Regions from separate parts of the Homo sapiens genome. Here region 1 is linked to region 2. Evidence: promoter capture Hi-C in 16 types of primary human blood cells and fetal thymus (Javierre and others, 2016). All regions are on one chromosome and are shown on one strand. Each heading gives the region's core, a stretch centred on a gene start or on the middle of the fragment in contact. The rest is flanking DNA. Distances are from core to core; before and after follow the strand shown. Region 1 overlaps LOC124903507 (a long non-coding RNA gene). Region 2 holds the start of ZNF609 (zinc finger protein 609).

What was found. Contacts are between HindIII fragments. The CHiCAGO score rates a contact against its expected background, and 5 or more counts as called.
Region 1: a fragment that was not itself captured here is called in contact with the fragment with the promoter of ZNF609 in region 2 in 1 of 17 cell types (activated CD4 T cells); the score reaches 6.0 in activated CD4 T cells.

What each region holds. Positions count from the first base shown.
Region 1 is chr15:64,719,249-64,724,351 of GRCh38, forward strand. It overlaps LOC124903507 (a long non-coding RNA gene), which reads left to right. Exons shown (of 3, transcript XR_007064679.1): 3 at 1-1,321. Among named protein-coding and RNA genes, the nearest start is that of OAZ2, 19 kb to the left of the region's middle. The HindIII fragment of the contact is 825 bases long and covers 1,251-2,075 here.
Region 2 is chr15:64,456,976-64,462,542 of GRCh38, forward strand. It overlaps ZNF609 (zinc finger protein 609), which reads left to right and starts at 3,603. Exons shown (of 10, transcript NM_015042.2): 1 at 3,603-3,863. It overlaps LOC105370861 (a long non-coding RNA gene), which reads right to left and starts at 3,612. Exons shown (of 3, transcript XR_932367.3): 1 at 3,524-3,612. RefSeq lists an enhancer at 3,125-3,194 and silencers at 3,655-3,774, 3,835-3,934. The HindIII fragment of the contact is 12,937 bases long and covers 1-5,567 here.

The sequences.
Region 1 (5,103 bases), core at 413-2,912, 260 kb after region 2:
AAATGCAGCCCGCAGGCACATGGCTTATTTGGCCAACACAGCATTTAAGAAATGTTTGAGCCGAGGCTGGGTGAGGTGGCTCAGGCCTATAATCCCAGTACTTTGGGAGGCCGAGGCAGGTGGATCACCTGAGGTCAGGAGTTCAAGACCAGCCTGGCCAACATGACAAAACCCCGTCTCTACTAAAAATACAAGAATTAGCCAGGTGTGGTGGTCCATGCCTGCAGTCCCAGCTACCCAGCTGCTTGGGGGGCTGAGGCAGGAGAATCGCTTGAACCTGGGGGGCGGAGGTTGCCGTGAGCTGAGATCACACCACTGCACTCCAGCCTGGGCGACAGAGCGAAACTCCGTCTCAAAAAAAAAAAAAAAAAAAAAATCCCAATTTCTACAGTCTCTTGAAAAATCAGACGATATGGCTAACATTGATGCATATGGCCCCAGGACCACAGCTGATGGGGCTGAATAATGACCACCCTTTAGAAAGACCTTGGACTGTCCATTTTGCCACTGTCCACACCACTCTGTATTGTCTCCAGCAGTGAGGCCGAGTATGAGTTGCTGTTGCTCATCACACTTGAATGGTTATTACACTGTTTTCTGTACCCTCGTCTCATTCAAAAGTGGGGATATGGCCAGGTGTGGTGGCTCACGCCTGTAATCCCAGCACTTCGGGAGGCCGAGGCAGGTGGATCACTTGAGCCCAGGAGTTTAAGACCAAACTGGGCAACATGGAGAAACCCCATCTCTACTAAAAAAAAAAAAAAAAAAAAGTGGGGACACGAAAGAAACTAAGAGGGCCACTGTTTGTAGCGAGCACATTTCTACCCCAGCCAGGCCTATCTATAAGCAAATAAAGATGGGATTTCATGTCCTCCCATCAGCTTTTCTGCACCCTCCCTTCTACCTTCCAGTGGCACAGTGCTTAATGACAGCTGCTGACAATACAGTGTCACAGGCCTTGCGCCAAAATTACCCCCAACTCCTTCCCTCACTCCCAAATCACAACTCTTATTATCTAAGTGAGCAACCCCAGTTGCAAAACACAAAGGAGTAATAAGTCCTGTAGAAATTCTCAGCTCCACCCCAGCCCCTGGTTGCCAATGACCCTGTGAAGAAGCTAAAACTCCTTAGCTCGGACATTCTGTCACAGAGAGACCTGCAGCATGTGCCAGATGAACTTGCATCAACTGAAAACCAAGGTCACCTCTGGAGACCAGAAATGGAAGTGACAGTCCCAGGCCTATTCATAAAGCTTCAGTTTTTTACAAGGAGATTGTAATCATGCAAAACTTGCGTAATTAAAATTAATAATAAACAGAAATGCCTCAGCCTAGTTCCTGTGAGTCTGACCCCAACTTACATTTCCAGGTTTTTTTTTTTTTTTTTTTTGAGACGGAGTCTCACTCTTGTCACCCAGGCTGCAAGCTCCGCCTCCCGAGTTCACACCATTCTCCTGCCTCAGCCTCCTGAGTAGCTGGGACTACAGGCACCTGCCACCACGCCCAGCTAATTTTTTTTTTTTTTTTTTTTTTTTGTATTTTTAGTAGAGACAGGGTTTCACTGTGTTAGGCAGGATGGTCTCGATCTCCTGACCTCGTGATCCACCTGCCTCGGCCTCCCAAAGTGCTGGGATTACAGGCGTGAGCCACCACGCCTGGCCTTTTTTTTTTTTTTTTTTAAGACATGGTCTCACTCCAGTGCCCAGGCTGGAGTGCAATAGCGTGATCTCAGCTCACTGCAACCTCCACCTCCTGGGCTCAGGTGATACACCCTGCCTTAGCCTCCTGAGTAGCTGGGACTACAGGTACATGCCACCATGCCCAGCTACTTTTTGTATTTTTTGTAGAGATAGGGTATCTCTCTGTTGCCCAGGATGGATACATTTCCAGTTTATCTCAGATTACTCCCTTCCATGAACAAGTCCACTCACAGAACCCTCTTTCTCCTACAAAGAACGTCTTTCTCCTCCTCCTTTGTCAAGCAACCTCTAGCTCATCTCTCAAGACTGTAGTCTTTCAATAATTTAGCTCATGCATACCCTAAACATTTTTAAAAATTATGTACCCCTTCAATAAAGCTTGTTTTAAAAGTGAAGTTTTTAGGCTGGGCATGGTGGCTCACGCCTGTAATCCCAGCACTTTGGGAGGCCGAGGTGGGTGGATCACCTGAGGTCAGGAGTTCAAGACCAGCCTGGACAACATGGTGAAACCCCGTCTCTACTATAAATACAAAAATTAGCCGGGCGTGGTGGCAGGTGCCTGTAATCCCAGCTACTCGGGAGGGTGAGGCCAAAGAATCGCTTGAACCCAGGAGGCGGAGGTTGCAGTGAGTAGGGATCACACCATTGCACTCCAACCTGGGAGACAAGAGCAAAACTCTGTCTCAAAAAAAAAAAAAAAGGGGAAATTTTAAAATTTGATTTAAAAAAAATTTTAACCATGTTTAAATAGTTGCAAAAGGCTGGGCACAGTGGGACATATCTGTAATCCAAGCACTTTGGGAGGCTATGGTGGGAGGATTGCTTGAGGCCAGGTGCTCAAGGTTACAGTGAATAATGATCATACCACTGCATTCCAGCCTGAGTGATAGACTGAGACCCTGTCTCTACAAAAAAATATAAAAACAGTTTCGAAGGATGTGATTTCTTTGCAATTTTTTTTTGTATTAGAAATATTGAAGCTGGACACAGTGACTCATGCCTGTAATCCCAGCACTATGGGAGGCCGAGGCAGTGGGCAGATTGCTTGAGGCCAGGAGTTTGAGTCCAGCCTGGCCAACAAAGCAAAACCCCATCTCTACTAAAAGTACAAAAATTAGCCGGGCATGGTGATGCGTACCTGTAATCCCAACAACTCAGGAGGCTGAGGCATTAGAATTGCTTGAACCTCGGAGGCAGAGATTGCAGTGAGTTGAGATCAACCCAGTGCACTCCAGCCTGGGTGACAGAGTGAGACTCTGTCTCAAAAAAAAGAAAGAAAAAGAGGCCAGGTGCAGTGGCTCACGCCTGTAATCCCAGCGCTTTGAGAGGCAGAGGCGGGCGGATCACTTGAGGTCAGGAGTTTGAGACCAGCCTGGCCAACATGGTGAAACCCTGTCTCTACTAAAAATACAAAAAATAGCCAGGCGTGGTGGCGTGTGCATGTAATCCCAGCTGCTTGGGAGGCTGAGGCAAGAGAATCGCTTGAACCCAGGTGTCGGAAGTTGCAGTGAGCCAAGATCATGCCACTGCACTCTAGCCTGGGCGACAGAGTGAGACTCCCTCTCAAAAAAAAAAAAAAAAGAAAGAAAGAAAAAAAGAAAAAGTAAGCTGTTCTTTAGCACAGGAAATTTTACATCACTCCTTTTTCTCCTTGAACTTGTATTTTCTTTTTACTTCTCTCACATAATGCTTTCCTAATACAATATGTACTTTATCCCTTTTTTTTTTTTTTTTTTTTTTTTGAGATGCAGTCTTGCTGTGTTGCCCAGCCCAGGCTGGAGTGCAATGGCACAATCTCAGCTTACAGCAATCTCCGCCTCCCGGGTTCAAGCGATTCTCCAGCCTCAGCCTCCCCAGTAGCTGGGATTATAGGTGCCTGCCACCACGCCCAGCTAATTTTTGAATTTTGAGCAGAGACAGGGTTTCACCATGTTGGCCAGGCAGATCTTGAACACCTGACCTCAGGTGATCCACCCACCTCAGCCTCCCAAAGTGCTGGGATTATAGGCGTGAGCCACTGCGCCCAGCATTTTTTTTTTCCCCCAAGATGGAGTTTCACTCTTGTTGCCCAGACTGGAGTGCAGTGGCGCGATATCAGCTCACCGCAAGCTCTGCCTCCCGGGTTCCAGCGATTCTCCTGCCTCAGCCTCCCGAGTAGCTGGGATTATAGGCATGCACCACCACGCCCAGCTAATTTTTGTATTATTAGTAGAGACAGGGTTTCTCCATGTTGGTCAGGCTAGTCTCAAACTCCTGACCTCAGGTGATCCACCCACCTCAGACTCCCAAAGTGCTAGCTAGGATTACAGGCGTGAGCAACTGCACCCGGCCAAGAATTCTTAAATATAAGACACAAAATTGTATAGGAAATACAACTTATATTGAGAGAGATGTTCTCATGCTAGAGTGAGACAGTGATAAGCATCAATGTTTTTGTTGGCTGGTTGGTTGTTTTTCTGAGACAGAGTCTTGCTCTGTTGCCTAGGCTGGAGTGCAGTGGTGCAAATGTGGTTCACTGCAGCCTCGACCTCTTGGGCTCAGGCAGTCTCCTGCCTCAGCCTCCCACGTACATGGGAATACAGGTGTGCATGACCATGCTCAACTAATTTTTTGTAGAGACAGGGACTCACTTTGTTGCCCAGGCTGGTCTCCTGGGCTCAAGCCTTGGCCTCTCAAAGTGCTGGGATTACAGGTATGAGCCATTATGCTTAGGCTGTGTTTTCGTTGTTATTGTTGTCTTTTTTTTTTTTTTTTTTTTTTGAGACAGTCTGACTGTGTTGCCCAGGCTGGAGTGCAGTAGCTATTCACAGGCATGATCGTAGTTCACTGCAGCCTCAAACTTCTAGGCTCAAGTGATCCTCCTGCCTCAGTCTCCTGAGTAGCTGGGACTACAGGTACATACCGCCACACCTGGCTAGGCTCAATTTTATTTCAACGTTTCAATCTCACACATGGTAATGCTGAGGTATCTTATTCACATAAGTACCTGGGAAAGGAAGAAGTTCTAGCAGAGTCACTCAATACCACCTAATCATCAAGCAGATGACAACAAAATTTGTTTCAGGTCCTTCCATTCAAAAGCAAAATATTGGGAAAGCTTTAGTTTGTAGAAAGGATCTATAATACAGTCATTTGAGTCATTCACTTTCTCAATATTGAAATCACTATTTCAAACTGTTTCTGTTTGAATTCCCAGAGATTTTTACACATCAAGACAATATACCAAATACCAGATCTCCCAACATACCAAACATCAGATCAACCAACAAACCAAATACCAGATCACCAACAAACCAAATACCAGATCTCCCAACATACCAAATACCAGATCACCAACATACCAAATACCAGATCACCAACATACCAAATACCAGATCTCCAACATACCAAATACCAGATCTCCA
Region 2 (5,567 bases), core at 2,353-4,852:
GGGTAGATGGCCTTCAGTTGCTCAGTGATGAATAGCACAATTTAAAGCCTAGTGGAAATTCTTAGCAGCCTGAGTGCAAACTTGCCCAGGAATAGCCTTTTAGGACTTTACAACACTTTGCTCTGACTGTGTAACTCTGGGACAGTGTGGCCTAAAGGAAGTTTCACATTTCTGAGCTGGTTTTTTGTTGCAGTCTAAATATCTGTACCCACTTTTGAATAGTTGGGTTCAATTGCTGTCAATTTGTATAGTGCCTAAAGGTTTCAGCTTTTTTGTTTTTGTTTTTGTTTTTGTTTTTCCAGGCAGGACTCAGTCTCATTTATATAAAGTCAGAGTAGGGGGATATATGAAACTGGAGACTTTCTCTGACGGGGTTTAGGAAGCCTTGGCTTTATTGCTTCTCGGCCTTTTGGCTAAGATCAAATGTAGGAAGCCTTGGCTTTGCAGTTAGATGTTTGGAATAGAGTAAGGGTTTTTGTTTGTTTCTTGCTATAGCTAATCTGGAAAAAGAAAACTAGGTATCCCCTCTTTTAAGTCAGAAGTTTACATAAATTCATTTTTTCCTAGGAAGTAAGTGTGAAAAATTTAGACTTCAAAGCCCATTTATGTGGATTTCATTTAATTTAGTAAATTTTAAAAATGCACCTAGCCAAGATCAAGACAGCATGGGAGTTATTCTCAAAAAGTCAGCTCAAAAAGACGAGTAAACAGCAAGCATCTATTAAACTAAAGAAATCAGTGAACTTCAGTTTGTTAGGCCTGGGGAGGGACAGAAAATCCAATGATGAAGGAATTTTTTTTCCTAGAGATTCAAGTAGCCAAGCATACATCTGCTGCTCTGAGCTTCTGTGAATGTGTTCGGAGGGAGGTGATCCATACCACAGGCACCAGCAGCAACAAGGCATCCAGCATGTGGAGGGCTTTTCTACTTCTCTCATGCAGAGAAGAAAGAATACAGCCTCAGTGCCATCCTCTGACACAAATGAACTTGTGTAAATGTCCATTTATGTGTATGTACATAATGTGGCTTAATTCATAGGGTGACAACTGATAACCTGATCCATTTTCAGACTTCATTTGTGACAATGGAGAGTCCAGAGAGACAACCTAGTAAGTGTACCCTAGCTTGAGGTCAGAAAAATGGATGTGTATATAGTGAGTGGGACTGTGGAACAGTGGGGTGGTGGGGAGTTCCTGAGAATCCATAGAGGAATGTCACAGGAAGGGAGTGAGATAGTGGCATAAGGAGAAAAAAAAACATCAGTACAGAAGATTTAAGAGTCTAGAGCTGTACTGTCTATTATGGTAGCCACTAGCCACTTGTGGTTATGAAAATCTCAATTATATGAAATTAAGGATTCAGTTATTCAGTCACTGTTGACCATATTTCAAGTGCTCAAATAGCTACATGTGGCTAGCGACTTCTGCATTGGACAGCACAGATATAGAACATTTCCATCGCTGCAAAAAGTTCTGTTGGATAGTGCTTGTCTGGAGCAGGGGTTGGCAAACTTTCTGTAAAGGGTCAGATAGCAAATATTTTAGGCTTTACACAGGCCATGCAGTCCTTGTTTCAACTGTTCAACTCTGCTGTTGTAGTAAAAATGCATCTATAGATGATAATGTAAATGAATGAGCTTGGCTAGAGCCAATAAAACTATTTTTTTGTTTGTATTTTAAGACAGTTTCATTCTTGTTGCCCAGGCTGGAGTGCAGTGGCAAGATTTCGGCTCATTGCAACCTCCGCCTCCCGGGTTCAAGCGATTCTCCTGCCTCAGCCTCTCAAGTAGCTGGGATTACAAGCATGTACCACCACGCCCGGCTACTTTTGTATTTTTACGGGGTTTCTCCATGTTGGTCAGCCTGGTCTCGAATTCCCGACCTCACGTGATCCGCCCGCCTCAGCCTCCCAAAGTGCTGAGATTACAGGCGTGAGCCACCGCACCTGGCCTGAAATTTGAATTTCATATCATTTTCACATCATGAAATAGTATTTTGATTATTTAACTGTTTAAAAATGTAAAAATCATTCTAGCTCATGGGACATGTTAAAACAGGTGGTGAGCCTGATTTGACCTGTGAGATGCAGTTTGCCAACCCTTGGTCTAGAGGAACAGTAAATCAAAACTTAAGGTTTGTTTACTATGTGGGACATCTGATCACTTGAAAATTTTTAGTGGTTCTTCGAGGCTTGAGAACTTTCTCTGGCTGAAACTTGGAGTTCACTGCAGGAATGTTTACCTTCCTTTGTTCCCTATTTTTGCAGTCTAGTTCTCTCCAATGGCAGAGTCATGCTCCTTCAGTGGGAGATGACTACTGGAATGTTTAATCCTTAATTAAATCATGCCTAAGTCTAAAACACTAAACCCTTCTCTGTCTCCACCTGCTAAGTAGCTGAATCCTCACTTGTAACTTTGTCTAGTATACATTGGAAGTTCGCTGTCACCTGGGATCAGTTCTGCCCCTGTACTGTCTAACAACATGACTATTGGTGGACCAAAGAGAGATTATTTTTCCTAGACCAGAAAGGTTTACTTTTATCTTTAGCTATCAACCCCTCCCCCCACCTTTTTATGACCTCACTTTATCTCCAAGTCACATGCTATCTTGAGTGGCACTGTTGAAGGATGCCCCAGGATAAGGGAAAAAAGGTAAGATAAATGCAAAGCAAAATAAAATGGTCAAGGACACAGGAAGGACATAATAGGGGCTAGGATGTGGGAGGCCTTGAGAATTAAGGTAAATTTGTTTGCTATGGAATGAGATGGAAGTCTTAGGAGGTCGTCATGAATAGATGTTTCACAAGTGAAAGCTGGGTGGGAGGGCTCACTTAAACATGGACTGAATGCCTACTGTGCACTAGATAGTATGCTGGGCAATCAGAGATGAATAGCAGATAAGGAAAAATAAAAGCTACAATCCTTAGAATGGTGGGTTGGAGAAGGACAGAATAAGGTTTTTAGATAATAAAAGGCAACAAGATTTAGTGATAGAGGATGGTGAGGGGAAAAGGGATATATAGAGGGATTAGAAATGGGTGCTTTGGGGAGAAAAGCAAGTGGTAATCCTAAAAGAGAAAGCTGGAGAACAAAGGATAAAAAATTAGGAGGTTGGTACTTTGCTGAACTAAGGGGTAAAATGGATGAAACCATCAGGAGCTGTGATTGCTCTTCTGTTCTTTGTGGATGCCCATGTTCAGATCCCCTACGGCCCTTTCCTCTCTGTGGTTGAAGGACAACTACAGAAGAGGTGTCTTCTGTGTTATAAGGTGCAATACTCCCCCCAGAGACCTCTCTATGAGGAAGTCTGATCCAGCGAGAGTTCTACTGCCCACGAGGGGACAGCGTTAGGTTCGAGCTCTCTAATCCAGGTTTCTTTGAGTTTATCTTGGTTCTAACCGGCACGCCGGGTTTTCCAGCATTCCCTGAGCTAAGACTCCCTAATCTGGGCTCCGGGTGAGCGCGCATTCCGAGACCCAGGATTTCGCTCCTTCATCCAGGTTCCGGGTTTCCCCTGCGCTCACCGGCTCCAGACTCCACACAAGCGCGGAATCCGGATCCGAGGGCCTGGCAGTCCAGTGTCCGCGTCTTCCGGGTGACTCTGGTTGTCCCGGATCGCGGCGGCGGCGGCGGTGGCGGCGGCTGAGGGACCCGCGGCCCCGGACACAGCGGCACCGGCCGGGCGGGGCGGAGAGGCGCGGGGAGGGGGCAGAGAGCCAGAGCCGGAGCCGGAGCCGGAGCCGGGGTGGGGTGGGGGGGAGGGGCCGCGGGAACGGATGGCGGCCTGGGCCCCGTAGCAGCGGCGGCTCTACGGCCCGGGGCCCCGGGCGGGCGGAGGTGGCGGCTCCCGGGACCGGCCGCGCGGTGAGTCCGGAGCTTTGTGTGGAGCCGGGACTGGGGGAGGAAAGAGGCGGCGGCACCGATGGGGCGCGGGGCTGAGGGGATCTGATGGGGGCCGGGGGCGGCGGCGCTGCCTGACGGAGGAAGTGGGGGTTGGGGGGGCTGGGGCGGAGCGAGGGGAAGGTGTGTAGGGGGGGTCGTTGCGTGGGTGGGGGAGGGGGCGTCGAGGGGCGCGGGGTGAAGTTCAAAGCGTGGCCACGGCCGGTTCAGGCTGAGGGTAGGGGTGCCCGGGAGGGGATTAGGGTCTGGCTAGGTTATGGGAGCAGGCCAGAGAGTTTCTGAGGCGAGTCTGGGTATGTTGAGGGCGCTCGGGGCGACTGGGGCCAGTCAGGGAGTTGGCGGGGGAGGGGGGGCGGGGGCGGTGGTGGTTGTTCAGAGCATAGGGTCGGAAGCAGGACGTGTGCGTGACCTAGGAGTGGGGAGCAAGGTGGCTGGGATCCTGCAGTAAGTAGGTTGTGGGTGTGTGCCCCTAACAGTCTTCAGGTCACATTTACTCCTGTCCTTTTCTTCAAGATGGAGGGATCCCTGGGCCTGGACCTCAACTGCTATCCTTGTACCCCCGGGAGGGTTTGTGACCCTATCCTGTTTGGAAAACCCATGCTGCCCTCTTTTCCCTTTATGTGTAATTACGGTTGGATCATCTCTGTGCTTTGCTCAGATTCTCCTTCCTCCCTCTGGGGTTGAGGAGGAGGAGACACATCTGACCAATTAATGTGTGTTTGTGAAACAGGCAGCAGCAAACAGTCATTTCAGCTTCGAGGAATTAGGCTCACACAGGGTGGAGAGATCAGAGCCCTTCAGGGGGAATATTTCTGAACAAATCACGGATGATTAAATTCTCTAAGAAACAGCTCCCTACCTAAATGAGAGTGAGAAAGATAGGGAAGAAAGCCTGTCTGTTTCCAGCCATGTGTCCAGAGCCTAAGGGGTTGAGGAGAGTCCCCAAGCCCCTACAGGCCTCCCTTTTCTGTATTAGGCTTTGCTCTGCAGCCTTGAGTTAATTTCACCCCTGCTGCTTTGTCTTGGGGGAGGGAGTGCTGGTTTAGGCTGTTGTGAGGAGATGACTGTTCTGCTGCCACACACAATAGTCGTGTCATTTTATCGGGAGCGCTACCCCAGGGCTGAGAACTGCTGCAGCAGAGATAAACCGGTCCCTCTCACCCGCCTATTGTGTACACAGTGAAGGTCATAGGTTCAAGTCTTGTCTGAGAGCTTTGGATATGCTCCATCTCCCAGGCTCCTCAGTGCCATTTTCTTCCTTTTCCAGACTGGGGCTTGCCATTGGAGGAGGCCAGAGAGAAAGGCTCTTCTTTTTGAGTGAGGAACAATGCAGAGCTCATTGGCACACATTTTTCAGAAGAATAAGGGATGCCAGCCATGTTGTGCCTGCCTCTTTGGCTAGCCTGTACTAAGTTGTGAAGGAATAGTGTCTGGTAGACTCAACTACGATGTTTGTTTCAGACCCTTAAGGAAGAAGACTTCAAGGGAAGGTTCTACTCTTAGTTGAATCATCATATTTAATTCTTTTATATGAATGGAACACTCATGCAGTGATTTTTGTTTGTTTCCGAATACCACTAAAAACCTGTGCAGTGTTAAGATGGGGAGTCAAGCCCAGGTGTGGTGGCTCATGCTTGTAATCTTGGCACTTTGGGAGAATGAAGCCAG